Regions from separate parts of the Homo sapiens genome. Here regions 2 and 3 are each linked to region 1. Evidence: promoter capture Hi-C in human tissues and cell types (Jung and others, 2019). All regions are on one chromosome and are shown on one strand. The core of a region is centred on a gene start or on the middle of the fragment in contact, and the rest is flanking DNA. Distances in the headings are between cores, read along the strand shown.

Region 1 (3,720 bases), core at 377-2,876:
GTAGGGCATCAGGGATCTACAGGTGGGGAAACTGAAGTCCAACAATGAGTCACAGGCCTCAATCAGGGAGCTGTTGGCAGAGCTGCATCTGTGACGCCTGGTTTGTTGTCCACCTTTCCTCGATGTGCAGGCTGGCACAGCTGTGAACGGCAGTGCTGGGTGTGTGCAGAGCTCTTCCTAGATCTTTCTTACGTGTCATCCTGTCTGACGCCCAGGGCAGGGATCGCCAGCCCCATGTTTCCATCTGGAAACAGAGGCCTTTGAAGGGAAAGGGGTCCACCCAGAGTTACTTCAGCCAGATCACATTAGGCTGAGGTTAGAACTTAGGTTTGGGGCCCCAGGCTCACTGTTATGTTCCCCAAGGTGCATCTGTTCTCTCAGGCACCAGCTCCAGGGGTCCCTGAACACTGCCCAGCAACCTCCCCAGTCACCTGAGGGTGGCTGGAGGGGACAAGCTAGTTCAGCCCTCAGGGAGGGCAGGAAGTGGGTGAATTTCTCACTTTATCTCCTTTAATTCTGCATATAGACAGCCCGCCTCTCACCCTACCATAAATAGCTCTTCCTGACAGAAGTAACCAACCCTAAATCTGGCTTCTGTCTCCTGTGTGCATGTACATGTAATGTTTACTACATCTGCGTGTTTCACCAGGACATAAATAGTATTTTTACATGTTTTCAGACTTCATGTAAAGAGATCCTACTGTGTATTTTTTAGAGATTTTATTTCCTCCCCCATTCAGTATGATATCTGTGAGATTCAATCCACACTGGTATATACGTAGCTCTAATTCTGACCGCCTTTTACAGATGAGACACGGGATCGGCAAGGTTACAGGACTTGCCTCGAATCATAGGTCTTGTAGGTGACCGAGACAGAATTTGGACTGTGTGATCCAGAGCCCTCTCTGCTTCTGGATCCTGCTGTCACCCACCTCCTTAGCACCTGCCTCCTACTCCACGTGCCCACGCCCATCCTGCTGCCCTGCTTCCTCTTGTCCTCTCCTTGGCAGGCATGTGAAAGACCGTTTTCACAAAGGTGTTAAGAACTTCCCGGGTTCCCCCACTGAGGGCACATGCATTTGAGGAAGTGCTGGGGAAAGCTCATTGGAGTGGGAAGCCAGGGCTTTGGGTCTGGCTCTACCAGCTGTGTGACCCCAACAAATCCCTCTGAGCCTCACTTTCCTTATCTGTATTATGAGGCTGCTTATAGGGGCCTGTGAATTTTATTAGGCGGGTGCAAAAGTAATTGTGGTTTTTGCCATTTAAAGTAATGTAATACCATGTCAGGGACTCGGGGACTCTGTCACTGACCAGAAAAAGGAGAGGAATTCTGAAATAGCTTCAGCATGAGGAGCAGGGTAAGAGAGCCTGGTGACAGACCCTGGCCAGCACCCCTTCCATCCCAGCCAGCAAGGGCCGTGGCCACACTTACCATGTGCAGCATGTCTGAGGCCGTCGGGGATACCTGGGCCCGGTAGAGGTTGTGCAGCTCCACCATCAAACGTTTCTCCTCATCTGTGAGGGCTCCAACGGGGCCTGTGGTGGCCACCAGCAGTAGCAGTAGCGGCAGCAGAAGCATCAGGAAACTGCAGGAGCCGTGCATGGTGGCCAGCCGTCTCTCCTTCTCCCGTCCAGGGGTCTGGCAGCTGGATTTAAAGTCCTTCCCACACAAGCACCACCCTGGCTGGGGTGGGGCAGTGGGGGCCGTGTTTGAGGCCCAGCCCGACTCACACAATGTCTCAGGGAGGGCTGGGCGCTTTGGGTCCCGACCAGCATCAAGTGCACTCCCCTTGGAGTCCTTGGCAAAAACCTCCTTTCTCTTGGTAACGGGGGCTCAGGCCAAAAGCTGTGTGAGTTCCTAAGTTGTGGACAGATCCTTCAGGGGCAAAATCACAGTAACCTCTGCAGAGCTGTGACTGGTTGCACCCAGGTCACACCCACTGTGTGTTGAAGATAGATAAGAGAAAGGAAACCACAGACCCTACCCACAGAGGAGTGGGCAAGATGAGGAAGCTATAGGCTTTTGAAAGGACAGAGGAAGACCAGATGTATTTGATAAAAGGCTGAGCCAACCTAAATCAGAATCCTGGTTCTGCCCCTTGCTATCTGTGTTTTGGCAGCTTTCTCAAGTGAATCAGTGACAATAATAGTACCTATCTCACAGGACTAGAGGGAAGATTCAATGACATATAATGTATGTAAAGCACCTAGTATGGTGTCTGGCACATAGTAGGCCCTCAGTAACAGTAGACAACCCACTCATGTGGCCTGGGCCTTAGCAGGCTACCAGCCCCCTGTGGAGGCAACATTCTTGCCTGCGGGGGGAGAGGCCAAGGTCTTCCCCACTCTAGCTGTATTCAGGAATAAGGCCTTTCACTATGGCAAAATTTTGGCTTCCAGGTATCCTCTCTGAATGCATGTGCTTGACATGCTCATTTGGAAGTGGGATGCTGGGACCCCTGTGCTCTAACTATGTAGAAATATAATGTGTCTGTTTCTTAAATCAAGAGAGAGCAGAAAAGCAGAAGGTTGAATGAGCTGATGCACCAGGAGCTCTGAGGGGAAGGTATTGGAAGGGAAATAGCCTTAGCAGTCAGGTGCTGGCATTATAATGACCTTGACCTTGCAGGGGCCATGACCGGTTCATGAAGCAGGAAGCTGGAACCAGTACTCTTGAGGACAGCTGGGATCCTTGAAGCCTGCTTCTTCAATGAATAGGGACCTAGAAAAAGTCTACCCACAGGCTTTGGAAGATGACAAGAAAACCTGTCCCTGCCTGAGTCTCCAAGTAAAAATAAAAACAAAACCAAGATGGATTACACACACATACACACACACACACACTTATTAGAATTAATAAAGTCAGCAAAGTTGCAGGATACAAAATTAACACATAGAAATTAGTTGTTTCTATACACTAATAATGAAAAATCCAAAAAGGAAATTAAGAAAACAATTTCATTTATAAAAGCAATGAAAAAGAATAAAAAGAATAAAATTCTTACCAATAAACTTTTTTTTTTTTTTTGAGATGGAGTCTCGCTCTGTCACCCAGGCTGGAGTGCAGTGGCATGATCTTGGCTCACTGCAACCTCTGCCTCCTGGGTTCAAGTGATTCTCCTGCCTCAGCCTCCCAAGTAGCTGGGACTACTTGCCCACCATGCTGCCCACCATAGCTGCTACCATGCCCGGCAAATTTTTGTATTTTTAGTAGAGATGGGGTTTCACCATGTTGGCCAAATGGTCTTGATCTCTTGACCTCGTGATCCGCCCGCCTCGGTCTCCCAAAGTGCTGGGATTACAGGTGTGAGCCACTGCGCCTGGCCCTTAGCAATAAACTTAACCAAGGAAGCAAAAGACTTGTACGCTGAAAATCACAAGTGTTGACAAACAAAGTGAAAGAAGACACAAATAAATGGAAAGTCATCCTATATTCATGGATTAGAAGACTTGATATTGCTAAGGTGTCAATGTTGCCTGAAGCAATCTACAGATTCAATGCAATCCCTATTGAAATGCAAATCATAATATTTTTATAGAAACAGAAAAATCCATCCTAAAATTTATATGGAATCTCAAAGGACCCCAAATAGTCAAAACAATCTTGAAAAAGAACAAAATTGGAAGTCTTACAGTTTCTGATTTTAATATGTAACCACAAATCTACAATAATTAAAATAGTGTGGTATTAGTATAAAGACAGACATTTAGACTAATGGA
Region 2 (3,720 bases), core at 778-3,277, 63 kb before region 1:
CTGAGATTGTGCCATTGCACTCCAGCCTGGGTGACAGAGGGAGACTCTGTCTCAAAAAAAAAAAAAAAGAAAAGAAAAGAAAAGAAGAAGAAAATAATCTTCACAGCAATCTTGGGAAGCAGATACTATCATCCTCATTTAGGAGATGAGGAAATGGATGCTCAGAGAGGGCAAGAGAGCTGCCTGAGGTCACACAGCACCTAAGGGGCAAAAGAAGGATTCCACCCCAGGTTTTCAGCCCCCAAGGGTGAGATGGAAGAACATCTATTTCCATCCTACCCCCAGAGTCCTGTAAGCACACTTCCTTCAGACGGTGTGGAGAGAGATTTGCAAAGAGAACCTAAGACACAGGCTGAGAGCACAAGAGCTTCTGTGTGGGGCAACTTTGTTGCCATTAAATTCCTCAAACACTTGAGCTCCTCTGCTGCCTCCCATGTGGTGGCCAGGCCTTTGCACACTTCCAGGGCAGCTCACCATAACCCAGACAGCACTGAGTACAAGCACATCTTTCCTCAGGTTAGGCCTAGTCTGCAGCCTCACTCCCCAGTCTTTGCCTTAGAAGGGGCTGATGTGATTTGGATTCGATGCCCTTGGCAATGAGGAGGCGGTCATGTGGAAAGAGGTATTTGGGAAAGAGCCAAATACCTCTTTGTGTGCAAGGGATGACAGGCTGGATGTGGGCCAAATGGGACAAACCTGTAGCCCAAAGGCCAGTTAGGAAGCAACATCATAAATGGTCCTGGCCTGCCCAGGTGCACTGGAGAGACAGAAGAGGTTTCTAACTGGGTCAGGGAGAGGGGAAAGGGAAAAGAAGGGAGAAATCCAAGGTTTGCAGTCCAGAAGCAGGAAGAAATATCATGCTTTTGACAGAAAAAAGGGAACTGGGGGCTCCTGACCTGAGGGTCCAGGCTGCCCCTGGGATGTTCATACAGAGGCTTCCAGCTCCCCAGCAGGTTTCAAGAGGAGTTTCCAGAACTGTGCTGAGCTGAGCCTCAACCACTTTCCCCAGGGCTAGGTCAATTCAGTCCCCTGCTAGTCCATACAGTACGTTTGTAGTAATTAGAAAAGGACAGCCTTCCTCAAAACACTTTACTGACATCTGTTGGCAAACTGGCATAATACCTAGATATTGTTGGAACAAGACATTTGACTGCCATCTGCCGGACAATTCTCACTATAAATATACCATCTATGATATATCATAGTCTGCTAATCTGCAGTTGGCTGCAGAAGACATCCTCTTAGATGAGGTATCCTTGTGCAGTGTACAACCTGCACAACTGTACGTGGAGCCCCTAGGTATGTGTGTCCACACCCCTTCCTTCTTCCCAGGCTGGCCCTGTGGGGGATGGCAAAATACTAAGACCAAGTCAGACCTTGGAGAGAATCAGCTGCTGTGAACTAGGCCTCCCTGACACCTAGGAAGGAGGAGGCCAGGGAGTCATAGGCCAATAGGAACCATCATGATGGTCAAAGGCAAGATTTGCCTCCAAATCACAGACTCAGAAAATGGTTCCTGCACAGAAGTAGGGTGAGTGGACAGCTCTGCACTTGCCAAGCCCATGCCGTCCAGGAGAGGGTGCTGTGCGGCTGCTGGAGTATCAGACATGTTAGCCGAGACTAGCAGACTCCAGAGACCCGGCACACACAGGGCTGGTGAGCTCTCAACACACACCCAAAGCATCTGATGCTCTCAGGCTCGGCTCTCTCTGTTTTCTCTCTATGACTCTGTTTTGGTTTCTATATTTCTTAGCCTTCCTATCTGTCGATCTCTATTTTTCTATGCCTGGGTCTCTGACAGTCCTTTGGCAGGGCCACCCGTCTCCATTTCTCTGTCTGTAGCTCTCTATAAACCTGCCTTTCTCAGCCTCACTCACCAAGGACTCCAGACATACAAGCCTGCACACGCCCTGGTCTATGTGACATTCTGGCCCCTTCAGGATGGAAAGCTAGATGCCAGGGCCGGGGCTGCACTCCTAAAAGACTTCAGTCAGCTCAGGTGTCGGGGTGAGCTGTGAACCCATGTTCCCTCATCAGCTTTCATCATTCCCAGGCTGCACCCCACCCCCAGGCCCTGGATTGCTCCAGATGCCAGGCAACCCCAGTCAGGAGCAGGGGTGGGGCTCTTTTGCTGGGGTCTCTGGAGGCCCCAGGGGCTCTAGAGGGTAGAGCATTCTGGTTCAACTCCTGCCTGCAGCTCCCTTCTGGGGCTGAAGGGGGTAGGGGTGATGCTGAATAGGAGAGTGACAAGATGGGCCAGACCAGACCTCTGCTTCTTCCAGTCCCAGCCCTCAGGACACACCAGGACTCAGGAGCCAGCAGAGAGGGGTGGTCAGGAAGCTTCTCTGGCTGTGTCCTCCACGATGCCAGAAATTCCACCATAGTCTTGAACCCTCTGGATTGAAGCCTTAATAGGCGACAGCAGAGCGTGGTGGTTAGACGCAGAAGCGCCAGCCTTTGTTACACCTGCATCTGAATCCTGGCTTGGTCACTCGAACTAGCATTTGCGATATGACCTTCAAGCAAGTTATTTAAGTTAGAAAGGTTTTCTAGGGCCTTGGTTTTCTCATGTTTAAAAATGGGATTAACTGCAGATACATTCACACACAGGCAGGCTGTACCAGGCTATTCACTGCAGCCTCATTTGCAGCTGCTGACAACTGAAAACAATCTAAGTGTCTCTCAGCAGAAGACTGGTTGAAGAAATTCCGGTGCATCTGCACAGTGGGACGCAATGCAGCTGGGCAGGAGGATGAGGAAGCTCTCAAGTACAGGGACACCTCAGTCTCCAGCATTTGCAGTTAGTTAAAAAAAAAAAAGCAAAGTGCAGAAAAATGTGTAGAGTATACCACTGCTTCTTGCATAAATGAGGAAACAATCCTATTATATGTTATTGGTTTGCTAGGCGAAGACCACCTCTGGAAGGCCTCACAAGAAGCAAGGATTGCCTTCAGGAAGGGGAACTAGGGGATAGAGTCGGGCGGAGACTTTCATTGTATATATTTTTTATATTGTTTGACTTTAGAATGTGTATAATCTGTATTTTTTAAGTAGTAAAATTAAAATATTTTTAAAAGATAAAAAACAGGCTGGGTGTGGTGGCTCATGCCTGTAATCCCAGCACTTTAGGAGGCCAAGCCAGGTGAATCACTTGAGGTCAGGAGTTTGAGACCAGCCTGGGCAACATGGTGAAACCCCATCTCTCCTACCAAAAATACAAAAATTGGCCGGGCATGGGGGCTCGCGCCTACAGTCCCAGCTACTTGGGAGGCTGAGGCAGGAGAATTGCTCGAACCCAGGAGGTGGAGGTTGCAGTGAGCCGAGATTTTGCTGTTGCACTCCAGCCTGGGCAACAGAGTGAGACTCGGTCTCAAAAAAAAAAAAAAAAATCCAGAAGATTCTAACAGCCCCTGCATCATGGGGCTGTTAGGAGGATCTTGTGGTCCCCCCATGGGCTCCATCATGGACTACTGGCCCTGCTCATTTGCCATAATCTCTGGATGAGGTAGATGGGGACACACACAAGCCAGCCGCTGAGCTGACACTGGAGACCTTTCCTACTCAAAACGTGTTCTGTGCTCCTACAGTATCAGCATACACTGCCCAGGATATGTCTCATTTCATTTAATTCTCACAATCCTGCAGGTGGGGTCAGTTGTCAGCCCATCTTAACTGGGAGCTGGTTAGAAATGCAGGATCTCAGGCACCCCCCCACCCAGA
Region 3 (3,720 bases), core at 789-3,288, 49 kb after region 1:
CATCCACCTGAACTAAGGGAGCCCAAACTTTAAAAGAAAGAACTACTTTTGATTTCTCTGTAGCCTGAGATCACCAAGGTGGATAAAGCATAAGCTTAGAGAGAGGAACGGGCAAACGGTGAACTAGGGGTGGAGGTAGGGTGCAGGCTCCTCTTCCTCTCCCCACAGAGTCCCTGACAACAGAAAGAGATGTGGCCAGACTCCAGCTTGGCCTCTGTCCATCTGAAAAGGTTTTGTCTGACGTGTTCTCTATACAACTGGCTGGAGCCATCATGCCACAAAGTGAACAAAATTCCATCCTGGGAAACAGCCAACAGCACACAGCCAGCCGAGCCCATGCCACCCTAGTTTACGGCTTTTGACTACCTAATATGCTGCATCTCACTTCTTTCCAGCCCTCCTGTTTCTAACCACTTTTCCTGAAGCACCAGACAGAAAAGTCAGCGTAAATTATATAGCAACTTCCTACTTTTAATTTCTAAGGCTTCTTTACTCCAGATATCCCTCATACCAGATATTTTAAACATTTTTTAAAGGTATGACAGAGAAGAGAAATCCTACATATAAAAGTTCAATAAAGCTTATAACTTGTATTTCAAGTTTTCACTATGATTTGGAATGATTTCACTGTTGGAGATGTCAAAAACAGTCTCTCAGACAAAACACAGCCTTGAAGTCAACGTGCAGAGACCATAACTATCCACCCTTCTTTACAAGTTGGGCACTGGGCAGAAAAATGGATGGGCCAGCGTCTCACCCATCAGGGAGCTTCCTGGTGCCTGAGAGTTATTTACAAGAAAACTCACTTAGGCTGGTTCTCTGTAGACAACCATAACATATCCTGGAATTCTGAGTGGGGAGAGTACTGTTACATAGATTATTTACCTGGCAAAAACAAAACAAAACAAAACAAAACAAAACAAAACAAAAGATTTCTTTCCAGGACAAAAAACTCCCTCTGGATAAAAAGGATAGGGAAGAAAGAAAAGAACAAAGCCAATACTAGCTCTACAAGAGCAGTGGTTTTGTCTGTTTTGTTCACTGCTTTGTTGAGAACAGTGCCTGGCATATATAGCAGGGTCTCAATAAACATTTACTGAATGAGTGAATGAAGTTGGGGAGAGGGAGGAAGGGATGGAAGGAGGAAAAGAAGGAGGGAGGAAGGCAGGAAGGCAGGCAGGAAGGCTGATTTTTCAGAAGCTTTAACAATAGAATTAAGTCCATGGGGAGAAAAATCAAATGAGCAATCTGGATTCACAGAAACCTCAAAATAAAGATTAAATAAATATAACTTCATCATTTCTTGCATTATAAATATAGCCAAGAAAACCCTGCAAAGCCCATGACAAAGTTCCCATGACTTTCACTAGTGTGTGCTCAATATTTAATCAGGCTGCTCTCCAGAAGCTTGTTTGTGCATAGCACCTCTTCTAGTACCCCGGGCATGAGGCAGGGGTGAAGCCTTGACAATGAAGGAGGCTTCTGCCAGGTCCCTGCATGTGTGGCACCATGCCCAGAGCCATTTTCACACACCGTAGAGGGAAAGAGCCCAAGAAATCATTTCACCAACAGCCTTGCCTCCAGGAAGCAATGCATTTGAACCACTCCAAACCACAGAGAAAGTCTATTTTCATGAGTTCTCACTTGTACAAAAATTTGTTTCTAAATGTGAAAATTTATTATCAAAAACACAGCAAAAGAAAAAATTAAAAATAAATAAATGTGAGACTTCAGATAAGTCAGTCAATCCCCTTGCACATCAGTTTCCTCATCTTTGAAATGAACATAAAAACAGTATCTACCTTATGTGACTGCTGTGAAGACTGAGAAATAAACTGCACGGCACAGTACCTGGTATACAGTAAGTGCTTGACAGAGCTGTTATTATCACAGAAGGTAAGCTTATTTTGCAAATAAAAGAGGAAGGTTTTCCTTGCGGTCTAAGCAGTTCATCTTTGAGCACAGATCTGGACTCTCTAAGTCTTACTAGATTCTTAGTTTGAGGCCAATAAATGATTTGCTATTTCCAAAACTTCTTGATGTTGCTGGATCTACTTCATCCTTCCTTTGAAGGTTACGGGATGCATCGAGTTCCAAATGTGTGCCTTTTCACTGTATGTGAGAACTATCCCAGGCTTCCTCAGTAGAAATGAATATGTTATTTTTAAGTTGGCCAGAAAATGACCAAAGTAAAAAAAATAATTGGCTGAACATGCTAGCGCCTGGCTTGACTGAGGGCAGAGATGGCAGGCTGTAAGTGTGATATCTTGGACAGAATGCTAGAGGGAGTTAAGAAACTAGGGTTCAAGTGTGATTTTGCCACTTTTAGCTGGGTAAGCAAGCTCCTTTACCTCTCCTGGCCTCAGTTACCTCTTTTATAAAATGGGGTATGTACTAGATTAACTCTAAAATTCTTTTCTGGCTTTAAGACTCAATGATTCCATGGAAATGGTAAAAACCAAGGGGATGGCCGGCAGGAGTAAAGTGACTATAAAGATATGAAGCCAGGAGGGGAGAAAAGCAGTAAGAATGTGAATGTAAAGAGAAAACTCTGGGTCAGTAAGAGGAAGGATTAAGTCAGTCAAATATTATCCATAAGGGTGCAGACTAGGGAGGATGAACTGGGCTGAATGTCAGGGTGCAGACTAGGGAGGATGAACTGGGCTGAATGTCTAAGACAACACCAGGTCGGGAAAATTCTAAAGGGTCAGAAGCTTGGAAGACCACTTATCTTTGGAACAGCCAGAAAGAATATTGTCTCTTCAGGGACTAGGGAGTTAAGAGAAAGTAACTGATGATCCGAGAGAGACAGTGGTAGAACTCCAACATCAGACTTAAAGCTAGACTCTTCAGGTCTACTGCACAGCTACAGACTACTCACATCAGAGGCGAAGGGCTCAGACTCTGAAGACTGGCTGCCTGGGTTCAAATCATGGCTCCGTGACCAGACCTGGGACCTTGAGCAAGTGACCTAACCATACTGTGCCTCAGTGTCCTCATCTGTAAAATGGGCATAAAACCTGAAGCTACCCTATAGGGATGTTGTCAAGATTAAATAAGCCGATATATGGAAAGCCCCCTGAACAGGGTCTGGCATCTGGTAAGTAATAAACAACTGTCAGTTTATTTACTTATTTTTTGCTGCAGAGCGGGATGTTTCCATGACTCGCTGCAAAGTCACTTCATTCTTCTTATTGAGAGCATTTAGGGGCAGGATTTCCTATCTAAGGCTGAAATCTAGAAAAAGAACCCCACCTCTGTCACCTTTTTGTTCCCTGGGTGGGGTCAGGGGAAACTTCCAGTCATTGGTGGTGGTGCCTCTTGTACATCACCAAGGCTGCAGCTGCCCTCCATCATTCCCGAGGTGCCACTGCAAGGAGCACCAGATGACCCTGGGAGTGTGAGACAGGCCAGCACTTCAGGAAACCATATGGGGTTTCCTTTCGGGAATCTGTCACACCATTCTCCCCTTGCATTTACTTTAAATGTATGGCCAACTAATCCTAACCTGAAGGTAGTTGTTTTTTGATACCAGGACATTAAAAAATGATATATTTTTACTTTTCCTGCCCTCTTACAGGCCCAGATTAAGTTGCACTTAATTCTCCCTCATGTGTTTCTGTTTACTCTTCATATAATTACGTGTTTTTAACTTTTCTTCCAAATGCTACGCAAAATGCTGTTAGTTTCACATGTCTACAGCTTCCCAGAATTATCATA

Evidence for each region. The method cuts DNA at HindIII sites, captures the fragments that hold promoters and counts their contacts. A contact is called where the count stands out against the background at its distance.
Region 2: a contact is called between a fragment that was not itself captured here and the fragment with the promoter of PI16 in region 1, in 1 of the 25 tissues and cell types used here (spleen).
Region 3: a contact is called between a fragment that was not itself captured here and the fragment with the promoter of PI16 in region 1, in 15 of the 25 tissues and cell types used here (H1 embryonic stem cells, IMR-90 fibroblasts, aorta and 12 more).

Annotation. Positions count from the first base shown.
Region 1 is chr6:36,952,644-36,956,363 of GRCh38, reverse strand. PI16 (peptidase inhibitor 16) reads right to left here and starts at 1,626. Exons shown (of 7, transcript NM_153370.3): 1 at 1,433-1,626. The coding sequence starts at 1,603. The HindIII fragment of the contact is 39,732 bases long and covers 1-3,720 here.
Region 2 is chr6:37,016,204-37,019,923 of GRCh38, reverse strand. All of the region lies in intron 9 of FGD2 (FYVE, RhoGEF and PH domain containing 2), which reads right to left. Among named protein-coding and RNA genes, the nearest start is that of FGD2, 12 kb to the right of the region's middle. The HindIII fragment of the contact is 7,463 bases long and covers 1-3,720 here.
Region 3 is chr6:36,904,486-36,908,205 of GRCh38, reverse strand. The region is part of intron 4 of C6orf89 (chromosome 6 open reading frame 89); the gene reads right to left. Among named protein-coding and RNA genes, the nearest start is that of C6orf89, 20 kb to the right of the region's middle. The HindIII fragment of the contact is 3,401 bases long and covers 338-3,720 here.